Regions from separate parts of the Homo sapiens genome. Here region 1 is linked to region 2. The links are contacts of gene promoters, found by promoter capture Hi-C in human tissues and cell types (Jung and others, 2019). All regions are on one chromosome and are shown on one strand. The core of a region is centred on a gene start or on the middle of the fragment in contact, and the rest is flanking DNA. Distances in the headings are between cores, read along the strand shown. Region 1 holds the start of LOC124906070 (a long non-coding RNA gene). Region 2 holds the start of PAX8 (paired box 8).

Region 1 (6,821 bases), core at 991-3,490, 80 kb after region 2:
ATATGTGTATATATGTATACGTGTATATAAGTCAATATATAGATATATATAGTATACAACTGTATATACAATTACATATGCATGTATATGTGTGTGTGTATATTTGTGAATTGTCTTCAGAGACTTCGGCTATGATTTCAACTACATATATATGTACACACATATATACTATACATATACACACATATATGTACATATATACATACATTTATATATACACACACACAAATATGTATAGTTGAAATCGCAGCTGGCTTCTCTGAAGATGGGAGTCCATACACAGAACACCGTCAGCAAACTGTATACCTGAATGAGTAAATATTCAGATTCTGCACTGAACATCGTGTCTTGTCATCTCCCTGACTCATTATGCACAACCACTTTAGGGTCTGTAGCAGAGATGCTGTCACTGACAAAGGTCACATATCTAGAAGGTGTGAGAGTCTGGATTCTAACCCAGGTCTGATCACAAAGCCCAGCCCTCAACCCCAGAGCTCCATAGTCAAAATGTTTCTCTTTGCTTGCAACCACAGTGTCTGCTCCTGAAAGTGTGTAGGTCTGGTCACAGGCTCTTGTGAAGACATAATGATCCTGGACATGGTCCAGAGAAGAGCAATTAAAACACTCAAGGGGAAGAAAAGGCTTCTGTTTGAGGACAGATTTTTAAAAAGCAGTAAAATCTGAAAAAAGGCAGAGTGAGCAGGGCATGATGGAAATCTCTAGGATGTGGAGAGAACCAAGAGGGAGACAGCCTGCCTGCCAAGGTGGCACTCACTGAAGCTTACAACCAGCAGTTTTAGGACAATGACAAGAAAGTTCTACTTACCACGTTCCATAAGTTTGCTGCCTGCTGTGTGATCCCAAGAGGTGGCACAGGCTGAAAATATAAATAGAATCCCATCCTATGAACATATTGCTGTGAGCTCCCTACAGAACGCCTGGCTTCCCATTGTCAAATTCAAGCTCTCAGTTTCTAATGGTTGAAACCAGGAGTGAGCAAACATTTTCTGTAAAAGATCAGAGTAAATATTTCTGGCTTTGTGGATCAACACTGCCCTAAATGCTCAACTCTGCCATTGTAGTACAAAAGTAGCCATAGACAGTACCTATGAATGAGCATGACTGGGTTCTATTAACATGCTATTTACACAATTAGCAAGGCCCAGATTTGACCAGCAAGCTGTAGTTTGCCAACACTTGGTCTACACCAATTCACAGTTGAGTTGAATCATACAATTTAAAACTGGGAGGCATCTTGATGATCACACCTTTATTTTATAGAGCAGGAGGGTGACATCCAGAGATGTCAGATGAATTTCCCAAGGTCCTATAGCTGGAGACCCACAGTGGGTTATTAGGGTTGTCCGGGGAAAATATTTAGATGCTCTGAAAATAGTTTCATGAAGGATGGGAGCCAAGTGTCCCATGCCGGGCATTTCTGACTCTCTTAAATATATGTTGGTGCTCAAAGACTGCCTTTTCTTAGAAAATATATCAGTTTAGGAAGGATTTGGAAATATAGCCCTTATTTTTAAAGCTATAATATAGCCCTTATTTAAAAAAAAACTGAGGGCTGTTTAAAAATCCCTGGAAATCAGAAAACAAGAAACATACTTCTCCCTCAAGTCCCTCACCCCTACCCCTAGTTCTCAGATGGGAGACAATTTTATTTCTTGACAGGTTCTGCAAGGGGCATTTGCCCTCAGAGCTGATGGCCCTGCGTCTGTCAATGCAGGTTGTACATCTCCCTCCCTTAGGTAGGAAGGTGCTCCTTAGGAGCTTGGTGTTGGGCCTGTCCACTGAGAACATTCATCTTCCACATTTGGGCAAGACTTTGCTGAAAACAATTGCTTTCCATACTCTGTTGGCTACAGCCAGGAACAGTTCAAATTTTTTGGTGCTCAGAGTCTTTAGCAGGAAGGTGAGTGTGTGTGTGTGTGTGTGTGTGTGTGTGTGTGTGTGCAGCTGGTGTGGGGAGGGAGGGAGAGGAGCAGCAGCTGACAGCTCAGGAATGCATCAGTGCTCAGAAGGTTCTAAGAATGATTATGTAGATAACTTGTTTTTTTTCTGGGACCCATTGAAGATCCCTCATGAAAATAAAAACTCATTGACTCAAGTAACCCTTTAGAAGTCAAAAATCTTAGTGGGAGACAGATGTATCACCGTTGCAGGTTTGGTGTCTGGAGCCCTCAATGGTATCCCCAATTCACTCTGTTCCTTGAGTCACTTCCTTGGTTGACTCAGTATTGTGGTCTGGGTCAGAGAGGTGAGCCATGTGCTCTTTGGCACTTTAGCAAAATGGCTAAGGTGGGGAAGACAGTAAAGGTGAGGGGACAGTATAGGCTATCTTAAACCCTGATGGCTTATTTTCCTCTGGAGGTAGCTTTGAGCTTCTGGAATAGAAGGGACTCCATCGTAAAGGCTTAAAAAGGAGTCGATCAGCTGGAGATTTGGTCCACATAACAAGTAAGGCCACTTGGCCTTTAAGAAGTGTGGTGATGAGGGAACACTGGACTCTGAGAATCCAGCTGTGGTCCAGTGACTCCCTGAGCAATTCCTGTCCAAGAGATGTCTCTACTTGAAGGCCACACAAATCTGTCAGTAGACAATTTTTTGTAACCAATTGCAAGATTTCCTACCTGTTGGTTGATTGCAAGAGGTGATCAGGCTGTTGGCCTTATAAACAGATGACTGATGCAGGCCTGGCTCCTGCAGGTGAAGAAGGCTGCTTCAAATTTGTGCTTCAGAGCCAGGAAGTCCTGGATTCAGGTCTCAGCTCCAACACTTACCAGCTTTAGTTCATTGCAGAAGTTATTTTGATTTTTAATCTCAGCTTTGGAACATAGAAACCAGTCTGTAGCAGATGCTCAGTAAAGGTCATTTTCCTTTTCATCCCAACCTTTCTCACACTTGGCCACTCTCTTGTTCAACTCCCCCACCCAGTGCAGACCTGGACACTCCCAGAGAGAAGGTCACACCTCATTGGGAAGCTGTTCTTGAGCAGTTCCAGCTTCAAGTCATCCCTGAATCTACCGCTCATTCAGCATATAACTGCTCTTCAAATATGCTAAGTACTTTTCTCTCATTATAAAGTTGACACATGCATTGCAGAAAATTTGAAAAATATAGAAAACATAATTTGGAAAGCATCCCCAATAAATATAACTTGCAGTGATGAGCACTGTTAGCATTTTGGTATGTTTCTTCCTATTTGTGCTTGTGTGGGCAGGCATAGGTTTTACAAAATTGGAATCACATTGACTGTAGATTTTGTATACAGCTTGTTCTTTTCACTGACATTCTGACATTTCTCATATCATTAAAGTCTTTGAAAACATATTAAATATTTTTAATGGTCACCAAATTTTCTGTGGCATGGATATATTGCAATGTGTGTAAGGTATTCTTAGTTTTGGATACCTAGACTGTTTCTAATTTTTCAATATTATAAACAACACTGCCATAAATATCACTGTAGGAAAATCTTTGCCACATTCTGATTACTTCTTTGAGATAAATTCCTAGCAGTAGAAGTCCTGGCCAAAGGATGTGGGAATTCTTAATGGCCTTAACATTGAGGGCCATGTGGTTCTCTAGAAAAGTTGTGTCAATTTCTATCTGTGGGGTATGTGTCAATTTCTGTGGGTTGTGCTTCTCAGAATCCTGTTGTAGTACTTAGATTGAAACAAGCAATCTCTCATATGATCCATCAATTATTGGAAGGTAGCTCTCAAATCTCCCCAGTTTATCTTCTTTCTGGGCTAAAAAGCCATTTCTTCAAAATACTCCAAAGCCTACATTCCAACCTCCTTGCCAAATTAATTTGTGGATTAGAGAATATTTTGGTTTGTAATTGTGGTTTAAAAAATGTGTTACCGCAACAGAGCACAGTGTATTAAATGTGGCCTGGGCCATTTCTAATTCCTTTATTTGGAACCCTATACTTCTATGAATGCAGTCTAAGTTTGCATTTGATTTTTGTTTTTGTTTTAGCAGAGAATTGGCTTATACAAGCTATGGTTTCCTGACACACTGAGGTTTTAATGCTCTGGTGAATTAGGGTATCTTTTATTTGGTATTTGTTCAACTGATTTTGGGGCGTTAAATCTAAGACTTCTATTTGTCTTCTTGGTAATAGTTCAGTGTTCCAGTCTGTTTCAATTCTGGTGATGCCCATGGAAAACAGGTCTTTGGTGCCTCAAATGTGTTTCCATGCCACATTGCCCAGTGGCTGAACCTGGGGCTTTTGCCCAACCTGGCCCTATGCAGAGGTCAGGAGAAGGTCATGGGTTTGTTGAGGCTGGGCTGCCTGGCGCCACCCTGGCCGACCATCCACTTACAGGTGTTCTCAAGAGTAGCTGGGATCTTGGCCTGAAACAACTTTGGTGAAGAGCATGGCTGACCCCTCTGAGAAGGGCTCTTGTGTGACGCTGGACAACTCCACCAGCACAGTGGGGCCTCTGGGCTCTGCAGGCCATGCAACTGTCTGCCTGGGCTTTTCCAGCCAGACCTGGCACAGGCCTGAAGACTGCCAGGATGCTGGCTTGCTCTGTGTCTCCTTAGCCTCTTTCCCTATACAAATAGAATGCAATTCCTCTGGAAAATTGGCACTTAACTGAGTTTTATAGGCAGGTCTGAGTGCTGGCAGGACCCATGCAAGAGTGCAAATGAATGCCTGAGCCCTCCCTTGACCCCATTCCCAGTTCTTGTCTGAATCCTGAGGGGCTTGTGCACAGATGGGTGGACATCTTGACCCTTCAAAGGCCTCCCCCAAAATATCCACCCTTTGACCACCCCCTGACTACCCCCAGGTTAGCCGTGTGTACTGGAGCATGGGCTATGTGAGGAGGGGCTGCAGGTGGGCTTATCCCCTTGGTCCCCCAGGTGCTTCTCCTCATTGGAAGAGTCATGGCTGAGGAGGCCAGAGCAGAGCCCGTGGAGGCACAGGGCCTGGGGCAGGGATCCCGGAGGTCCCATGTAAGGTGATATTGTTCATGAGCAAACTGCTTAGTTTGCTTTTTGGTTGGTCCCTGCAGATCTATATGCTTCTGTGTGTTGGGATAAGAGGCAGGTGTAGGTGTCTAGAAGGAGCAGCTGAACCTGCATAGAAAGAAAACCCCAAATAAAAAGGGGTCAGATCCAAGTCTAAGGGAGCTCTGCTGTACTTGCAGGTGAGAAACCTCAAGACCATGAAAGACACTGAGACAGTGGAAATGACACTGACCAGGGGTCAGGGAGCTTGAACTCTCATTCTGGGCCCTGGGCACTGAATGAATGTTCTGACCACAGATCTCAAGGCATTTTGGCCCACAAGAGTTCAAGGCCCAAGGTATGAAAGAACTCGCCTGCAAGTGGCTCCCAGATCCTCTGAAAATGAACACCATGTCCACGGCCCTTGCACGCCTGTGCCCTGTGGCACCTCGGCCTGTCACCTCCCCAGTTCTAGAGGAAAACATGTCTCCTCCCCAGTTCTAGGGGAGAGCATGTCTCCTCCCCAGTTCTAGGGGAAAGCATGTCTCCTTCATTTCTGGGGCCACCCAGGCTTCCCTGCACATCTATTCAGTATTTGGTTCCTATGCATGGGGATAATGAGACTCTTATTTAATTCAAGTAATTTCAGTTCCATCCCATTCAACTCTCTCCCAGCAACTACAACTCTGTCTTTTATTGCAACTATCATTTGCTTTTTTGATGGAGGTAAAACAGAAAATATAAACAGACGTTCAAAATAACCCCCCTGCCTTTTCCTTCATATTTTCAAAGTGCTTTCCCATAAAGTATTTCATTACAGACTCCAGCAGCTGCTGTGAAATATGGTCTCAGATGTAGAAGCCAATGAAAACCAAATGAAAAGAAATCCTAAGAGCAGAAAAAAGGAGAGAGTAGTCCTGCTAGGCCCACAGCCCCATTTCTGCCAGGACTGGGCAATGCCCAGGTACCTGCTTGTTGCTTGAGGGGACTGTTCAGAAATTTCTCCTCTTCTCCTCCTACTTCTCCTGCTCCTCCTGCTCCTCCTCCTTCTTCTTTTAGGGACAGGGTCTCACTGTGTTGCCCAGGCTGGAGTGCAGTGTTGTGATCATAGCTCTCTGTAACCTAGAACTCCTAGGCTCAAGAGATTCTCCCACCTCAGCCTTGAGTAGCTAAGACTACAAGTGCATGCCACAACACCTGGCAATTTCTTAAAAAGTTTTATTGTAGAGATGAAATCTCGCCATGTTGCCCAGGCTGGTGTCAAACTCCTGGCATCAAACCATCCTCCCACCTGACCTCCCAAAGTGCTGGGATTACAGGTGTGAGCCACTGCACCAGGCCTCATGTGTCTTCTAAAATCCTCCTTTATTTCTTAATTTCTTCTTCCTGTATTACACTGCTTCTTCGAAACAAAATTCTAAAATCTCACAGCTGGAAGTAGCTGTAGTCATTATTTAGGCCAGTGGTTCTCAAAGTGTGGTCCCTGGGTCAGAAGCATGAGCCCCATTTGGGAATTTGTTAGAATCGGTCTCAGGCCCCACTTCCGACCTGCTGAGTGTGAAATTCTGGTGGTGGCGGAGTGGGGGCAGCTGTGTTTTACCAAGCCCTCCAGATGGTCCTGATGCACATCCAAGTTTGAGAACCACTGATCTGGGCCAAGATCCTAATTTCAAACGGAGGCCCTTGGGCAGAAGGGTGATGTTCTTTGTCATACAGTGTGACACGGTCAGCTGCAGGGCCCAAATGAGAAGCCAATCTCCCAGCTCCTGTCATGATCCACTCCCTCTGCTGACCTGTCTACAGAGCAGTTTCTCTGGCCTGCATCCCACTCCATGCAGAGGCGCAGAGGA
Region 2 (6,258 bases), core at 1-2,500:
GGCCGGGAAGGGGGAAAACAGGCATCGCGGCCTGGGAGCTCGAGTGTGTTTGAAGGCCCTGCTTCCGGGCGCAGGTGGGGAGGGGGTTTTGACTCCGCGAGCGGCTTAGTCCTCACCAGCCGGACGCCCCGCGCGCGGCGCCCGGCCTGCCCGGTGCTGGGCCAGGAGGAGTCGGAGAGCACCTGAGTGCGCTGCCGGCTCCCGGGCCCGGGACCACCGGCTCCATTGCCGTTGGCTTGAGAGATGCGGGGAGCTCACAGTCCAGCCAGGGGAGTCACTGGGAAGGACTGCGCGCACCCGAGGAAGAGGACTTAGAGGTCGGGGACGGGGAAACGGCAAGTCCAGCACCGGTGCAGCCCAGGGACAGAGCACGAAGAATGTCCACACTAATGCGCCATGCAAGGCTGGGAATGGAGCTCAAAGGAAACCCCCTCTAACTCCACAGAGATCCCCTCACCGATCCATGTGGTCCCTCGAAACCGGGCAAGGGCGGCTCAGCTGGCCGGGTGGAACCCCAGTGCCCGAGAACAGCGAGGCGGCTCCAGCGGAGGGCCAGGCCCCAGGCGCCCCAGCTGGGTCCCCACGCGGGTGGGTCCCGCGAATCCCGTGCTGACGCTCTCGAGATCCAACCACCCGAGCGCACGCACGGACGCTCAGCGGCGCGGGGGCTCGGGGATCCTGACCACACCGCGTTCTTACCAGATCTGATGGAGTTGTGAGGCATCGCCGGGGAGTCGCTCGCAGCCCGCCGAGGGCTCGGGGCTTCCTCCCGTAGGTCCGGGCCGCGCCTGCCGCTGCCCTGCACAAACCCAGGAGAAGGGCATGAGATGCGATGAGATTCGATGCCTGCATCCTCAGGCCCCCTCCCCAGGCCTCATCCTTTACACCTGCATCGTCTGCCAGGAGTAGGAGGATTTTTAGGCGAAGTAGGGCCAACCTCAGCCTAGCCTAGCTAACAGGCTTCCCGGGAGGATCAAGGATTGGGAGTGCGCTGAAGAAGCTCCAGACTCCAACCTCCGTGCCCACTCCCTCCGCTGTCCCAGTCTTATCCCGTTTAACTTGGGAGGGAAAAGGCTGCCAGGCATCCTGGGACCCTCTCCTTTCTTCCATCCCCCGTCCTCACTGCTAGCCAGCTTCCAGCTAACCCCTGGGTGACATACCTGGCCGGCCGGCTGCAGGCCCTCACTGCTTGGGTCCGCCCGCGAGGGTGCCCTGGGCCCGGTGTCTCTCCTCCTTCTGAAGTTTGTTCCCATCCACCCGGCATCACCGACCGGTTTTATCCCGCTGAGGCCCTGGGAGATGGGTCTGGCGAGGCTCGTAGGCCGCGGATTGGCTGGCTGGGTGCAGGGGGGTGCGGGAAGGGGAGGATTTTGCAAGGGGGACATGGCTGAGTGGACTCAGGAGTTAGAAACATTCGCTGGGAGCTTCTGTTTCCAGCGGAGGGAAGAGGGAGGCAGCTGAGCCCTAACTCAGCAGGCCTGGAAATATTGGAGGAGTGGGGAACAGAGGCCTAGGAGCCTGAGGATGAGGTTCTCTGGGTCCTCCTGGGTCACTGACCACCAGAAGTGAGAGGGATGGTCTCTGTAGGATGCCCTCCTTGCCCCCTGTCTCCCCTGGTTTGCTCACCAGGAAGCAGCCTTTTCTTTTGTAAAAGGAAGGAGGGAACTTCTGTTTTATGCCTGATTCTTTAGGTAGAGCCTGCTTTCGGGGCTGTAGGCAAGATGCTATTACCTTCTCACCACAGCTATGACCTCTTCCAGGGAAGAATCCTGAGCAGCACCTGAAGCCATTCCCTCTGTTCTACACAGATAGCGTTCACACCCTTGCATTGTCAGGCTAACAAAATTGTCACATAACCCATTCCACAGCAACTCCTCGCCTCTCTCCTCTGGAACACACACGCAGCCACCTGCCCTCTTTCTTGCTCCTTGAGGATTTTGAACTTGGAAGAAGAGTTCAGGGGAAGGGCATTGAGGGCCTAGACTTCATCTCTGTGTGGAAAGGCCTTAGAAAGGAACAGGACTGAGCTGACCTCTGGCCTGGTCTGTAGGAATCAATAGCCTCAGCAATATGGGGGCCTGGGTGTGGTTAAGAAGGGGTCCACTGGTGGGAATGATGGCAGGGTTGGTGAGCCCTGGGACCGAGCAGAGCTGCCTGGCACCTCTTTACCTTAGTGATGGCAAAAGCTGCCCCCTCCTTCCTCATAGTTCTCTCAGTCGGGGAACCGGGGTACACGTAAGATTGTGAGTGGGTATGAGTGAGCAAATGTCCTGGAACACTGGCAGGCCTGGGGGTCAAGGCCTGGATGCTCCTCCAATCTTTGGCCAGACCTCTGGACTCAGGATTACAGTCTAGAGGACAGCCATGCCCTTTTCAGTGATGGCTCTGCAGGCCTGGTGGGGTTGTTCTGGGACAGGAGGCTAAGAAGCCAGTGGGAGGGGGGCAAGGAAGGTGCAGGGGAAACTGGGATATTCAGGGGGATTGGATGTGTGTGTGTGTGTGTGTGTGTGTGTGTGTATGCACATATGTACACGTGTGTGAAAACACATGAACTATTTTTCTGAATTAAAAAAGTTTTCTCTTTCATGTCAATCCACAACCTCCTTCCACCCAGTCTTTCTCATTTCTCAATTTAGGAGAAATGAATCATCTTGTGAAAAAAGAGAGAAGAAGATGTGTATCCCTACATGTTTCCTCCACATTTGCAAAGAGGGGCTGTAAACAAAAATAGTTGGTGCTTCATCATTTTAAATCTTTCTCTAAAATTGTAATTTTAAATATCTCTGTGGTTTTCAAAGCTCCAGATCCCTAACTTCTCTGGCAGTCCCTCCCAGAGAGAGACAATCCAAGGGTGTTGGGATGGAAATGGATCTTGGCATAGGTCCTCCGGACCCCATGGGCCAGTTTGCTGCCCTGGATTGTGTCCTGCTGCAGGGGAGGTGTGGAGTGTGGCAGCCACAGCAGAAACTCTCTTTGTCCACCCAGGATTCCCTCCCACCAGGGAGGCAATGCTCCAGGGTGAATCTAATACGCCCTCATTTCAAACAGCTCTGACAACCTTAGAGATTCTACCCAATCTAAGGTTCTGATACGTACCAATAACCATTGACTCTCATGCAATCATTCTTGCCTGTGCACATCTTTTCTGCCCAAGCAATGAACCCTCTCCCTTTCCTATCCCCTTTTTGGGCAAAATTTCTTAGAGGACAAATCCAGCAAGTTATCAGAACATTCCTGTCCCATGTATAAATTTATCTTTAAAATTTCATTTCAAGGTAAAAACAATGTGCACTGTTCAAGGTTACTCCTCAGGGAAAAACACACCCCACACCTTGACAGTACCTCTTCTCCAGACTGCAGGTGACATAGCAGGTGACCAGAAGACTCAGCAGAGAAGATCTAGGACGAGCAAGAAGTGAGAATGCAGTGAACTTCTGCTGCAGAGATAAACACAGGCCTCCTGGACTGACCCTGCTTCTAATTAGAATCAGAAATCAGGCCTGGGTTCCTTGGTACTTCCTAATTCTCTGAGACCAAGGCCAAGGAAATGTCATTAACTGGTGCTTTAACTCTGTCTCTTTGGCATCAGTCTCCTCCTCTGCAAAACGAAAGGTTTGAAATACATATATTTTTAAAATCACCTATTATCACAGTATTTTTTCAAACTTAAAATCCATGATGCTTTTAGTTAAGAATAAAAATCATATGCCTTCCTATGATGATATTTGAAATTTTAAAATAAATTTGCACTGTGACTAATAGACTTTCAATGGGACTTTTAGAACTCTTTTTTTTTTCTTCTAGACTTAGTCTCACTCTGTCACCCAGGCTGGAGTGCGGTGGCATGATCTCGGCTCACTACAACCTCCACCTCCTGGGTTCAAGTGATTCTCCTGCCTCAGCCTCCCGACTAGCTGGGGCTACAGGTATGCATCATCATGCCTGACTAATTTTTTATATTTTGGTAGAGACGGGGTTTCACCACATTGGCCAGGCTGGTCTCGAACTCCAGACCTCAAGTGATCCGCCTGCCTCAGCCTCCCAAAGTGCTGGGATCACAGGCATGAGCCACTGTGCCTGGCCAGGCCTTAGAACTCACTTTTTAAAATGAATACCTCATTTGCCAACTTTTCTTCTCAGGCTTGAGGCCCATAAGGCTTTTGTGGCAATATTATCAACTGGCAACTAGTTATAATTTTTTTAAACTCAGTGTTTTTTTGAGAAAATGTAATTCATTGCCAATATCAAAATACAGAAGTAGAGACGAGAGACTAACTCTGCCTTGCCTTTGAAAATGCAAGAGATCTGGCCGCAGATCTGAGCGTTTCTTTGTGGAAATGAACATTCTTTCAGGTTTAACATTCCAACAATCCTAGGTAATTGCCTAACTACAGTGGTTTTTGAATTTGCATAATATCCCACAATTTGTTTAATTCTATGCTGATCTGCTGAGCCTTCAAAAGATGTTCTTTCTTTTCTGGACTCAGCTGTAATGCACTGGGCTGGTGGTAGGGTAATAAAGTGCCCTGGTTTGCCCTGGACGAAAACCAACAGTGTTTTCTAGATGCGAGTTAAAACTGGGACTTTCCCGGGCAAATCAGGATGAATTGGTCATCCTAGCTGATTAGAGTGTGGGAGTGGGATGGTTTGGGGGTCTTTTATAAGCTGCCGTGTTTCAACTGACTATTGGGTGGGTGATTGTTTGCACACTTGGGTCATTCTACCTGCTGGCTCAGGTGACTGAGACCCTTGAACTCCAGTAGGTCCATGAGCTCTTCCTCTTACTCCTATGTACCCTGGTTTCTCTGGGCACAATGCCCAGAGACCAGCCTCGAGGGAAGACCACTGCTCCCAACAATCCTCCTGGCTTACTTGCCACCATGCCACTTCCCCTACGTAACGAACCATTGTTGGGACTAAAGTACATCCCTTCAGGAAGAAAACAGCAGCTCTCTACTTTGCATCAGAGGTGAGTGTTCCAGCCCTAATTGTGTAGAATGGGATGATTTCTTCTGCCCGAACCTCAGTTTCCCCTTCTGCATGATGTGGATATAGACGGGGGGCTGGGGAGGGTCAGACCCACCTCGTAGCTTTGTTGTGAGGACGAATAAAATTATGAATGTGAAGGCCCTTTGAAAACTACACCTCTGTACAAAAGTTAATTATTATTAGACAACAAAGGCAGAGGAATACATCCAAAGAGGGCAAAGTTAAAATGTCCCTAAAGTTTTGCTGTGGAAGTCGGTTCCTTTAATCCTTTCCCAAAGGAGCCTTGGAGAGGAAAGGGCCAGTGAGCCCGTGCCTGTGGGTGCAGGCGTGGGTGCAAGGGTAGCAGTGGGGCAGGGGTGTCTGTGAGGGCAGCAATTAACATTCGTTGACCCAGAGAGAGGGGAGAGTCAATGGCAGAAGGCCAGCACCCCAGCAGAACTTCCAGCAGCGACTTCATCATTTTGCAGAGGGCAGAAGTGTTCAGGGCACTGGCAGTTTTCGCTCCACCCTCTCCCCTCACAGACTTGCCCAATCCTGCCGAAGCCACGTGGGATTTCAACCCTGTCCCTGCACTCAGGAAATGGCCGACAGCCTGCCCTGGGGCCTCCTGGTGGCAGTGCCTGAAAATCAATCATTAATTATTCCAGGTTCTCCACCTCCCTAGGCTTTGAAAACTCAGAAATAGAAATATAGGTCCTGGCAGGTGAAAGGAAAAGAGCCACTGGTTGGGCTGCCGAGGGCAGTTTGGAAGAAACCACTGGTGGCATTTGTCCAGTTGGTTTGGGTAGGGATGTGTCCTGGGCACTTGTCCCTTGGGCTCTTTGCCCACCCCACAGCCTTTGGCAGCAGTTGCCTGGGCTTCTGGAAGGAGACCCTGGTACTTACAAATGGGTGGAAAAAAAACTTCCTGGGGACACAAAAAGGAAGGTGACAGAGGGAGATAAAAGGATTGACGTACACAGCTCAATTTTTTTCTCTAGTAATCATAGTTTTTTTTTTTTTTTTTTTTAAGTTAGAAAAAATGAGCTAGACCCTTTTGGCAACCCATCTTGCAGATGAGGAAACTGGATTCTAGGGAAGGTAAGTAGAGAGCAAGGCCACCCAGCTAGCAGACAGCCAACTAGGTGGCCAAATAAAGCACCAGTGACTCAGGCTTTGCCTTAAATATTATAAATTCTACTCACTTCAGCCTAGTTTTTGCTACTCTCCACACCTGCCCCTTCCCCTCAGGAAGGAAGTTTCTGGAACCCAGGGAGTGGCCAGGGTGAG

What was found. Contacts are between HindIII fragments. The study calls those that stand out against the background at their distance.
Region 1: a fragment that was not itself captured here is called in contact with the fragment with the promoter of PAX8 in region 2 in 2 of the 25 tissues and cell types used here (neural progenitor cells and spleen).

What each region holds. Positions count from the first base shown.
Region 1 is chr2:113,356,850-113,363,670 of GRCh38, forward strand. All of the region lies in intron 2 of LINC02966 (long intergenic non-protein coding RNA 2966), which reads left to right. It overlaps LOC124906070 (a long non-coding RNA gene), which reads right to left and starts at 2,795. Exons shown (of 3, transcript XR_007087202.1): 1 at 2,640-2,795; 2 at 827-877. The HindIII fragment of the contact is 7,963 bases long and covers 1-6,222 here.
Region 2 is chr2:113,277,671-113,283,928 of GRCh38, forward strand. It overlaps PAX8 (paired box 8), which reads right to left and starts at 1,251. Exons shown (of 12, transcript NM_003466.4): 1 at 1,161-1,251; 2 at 700-799. The coding sequence starts at 724. RefSeq lists a promoter at 724-1,853. The HindIII fragment of the contact is 12,536 bases long and covers 1-6,258 here.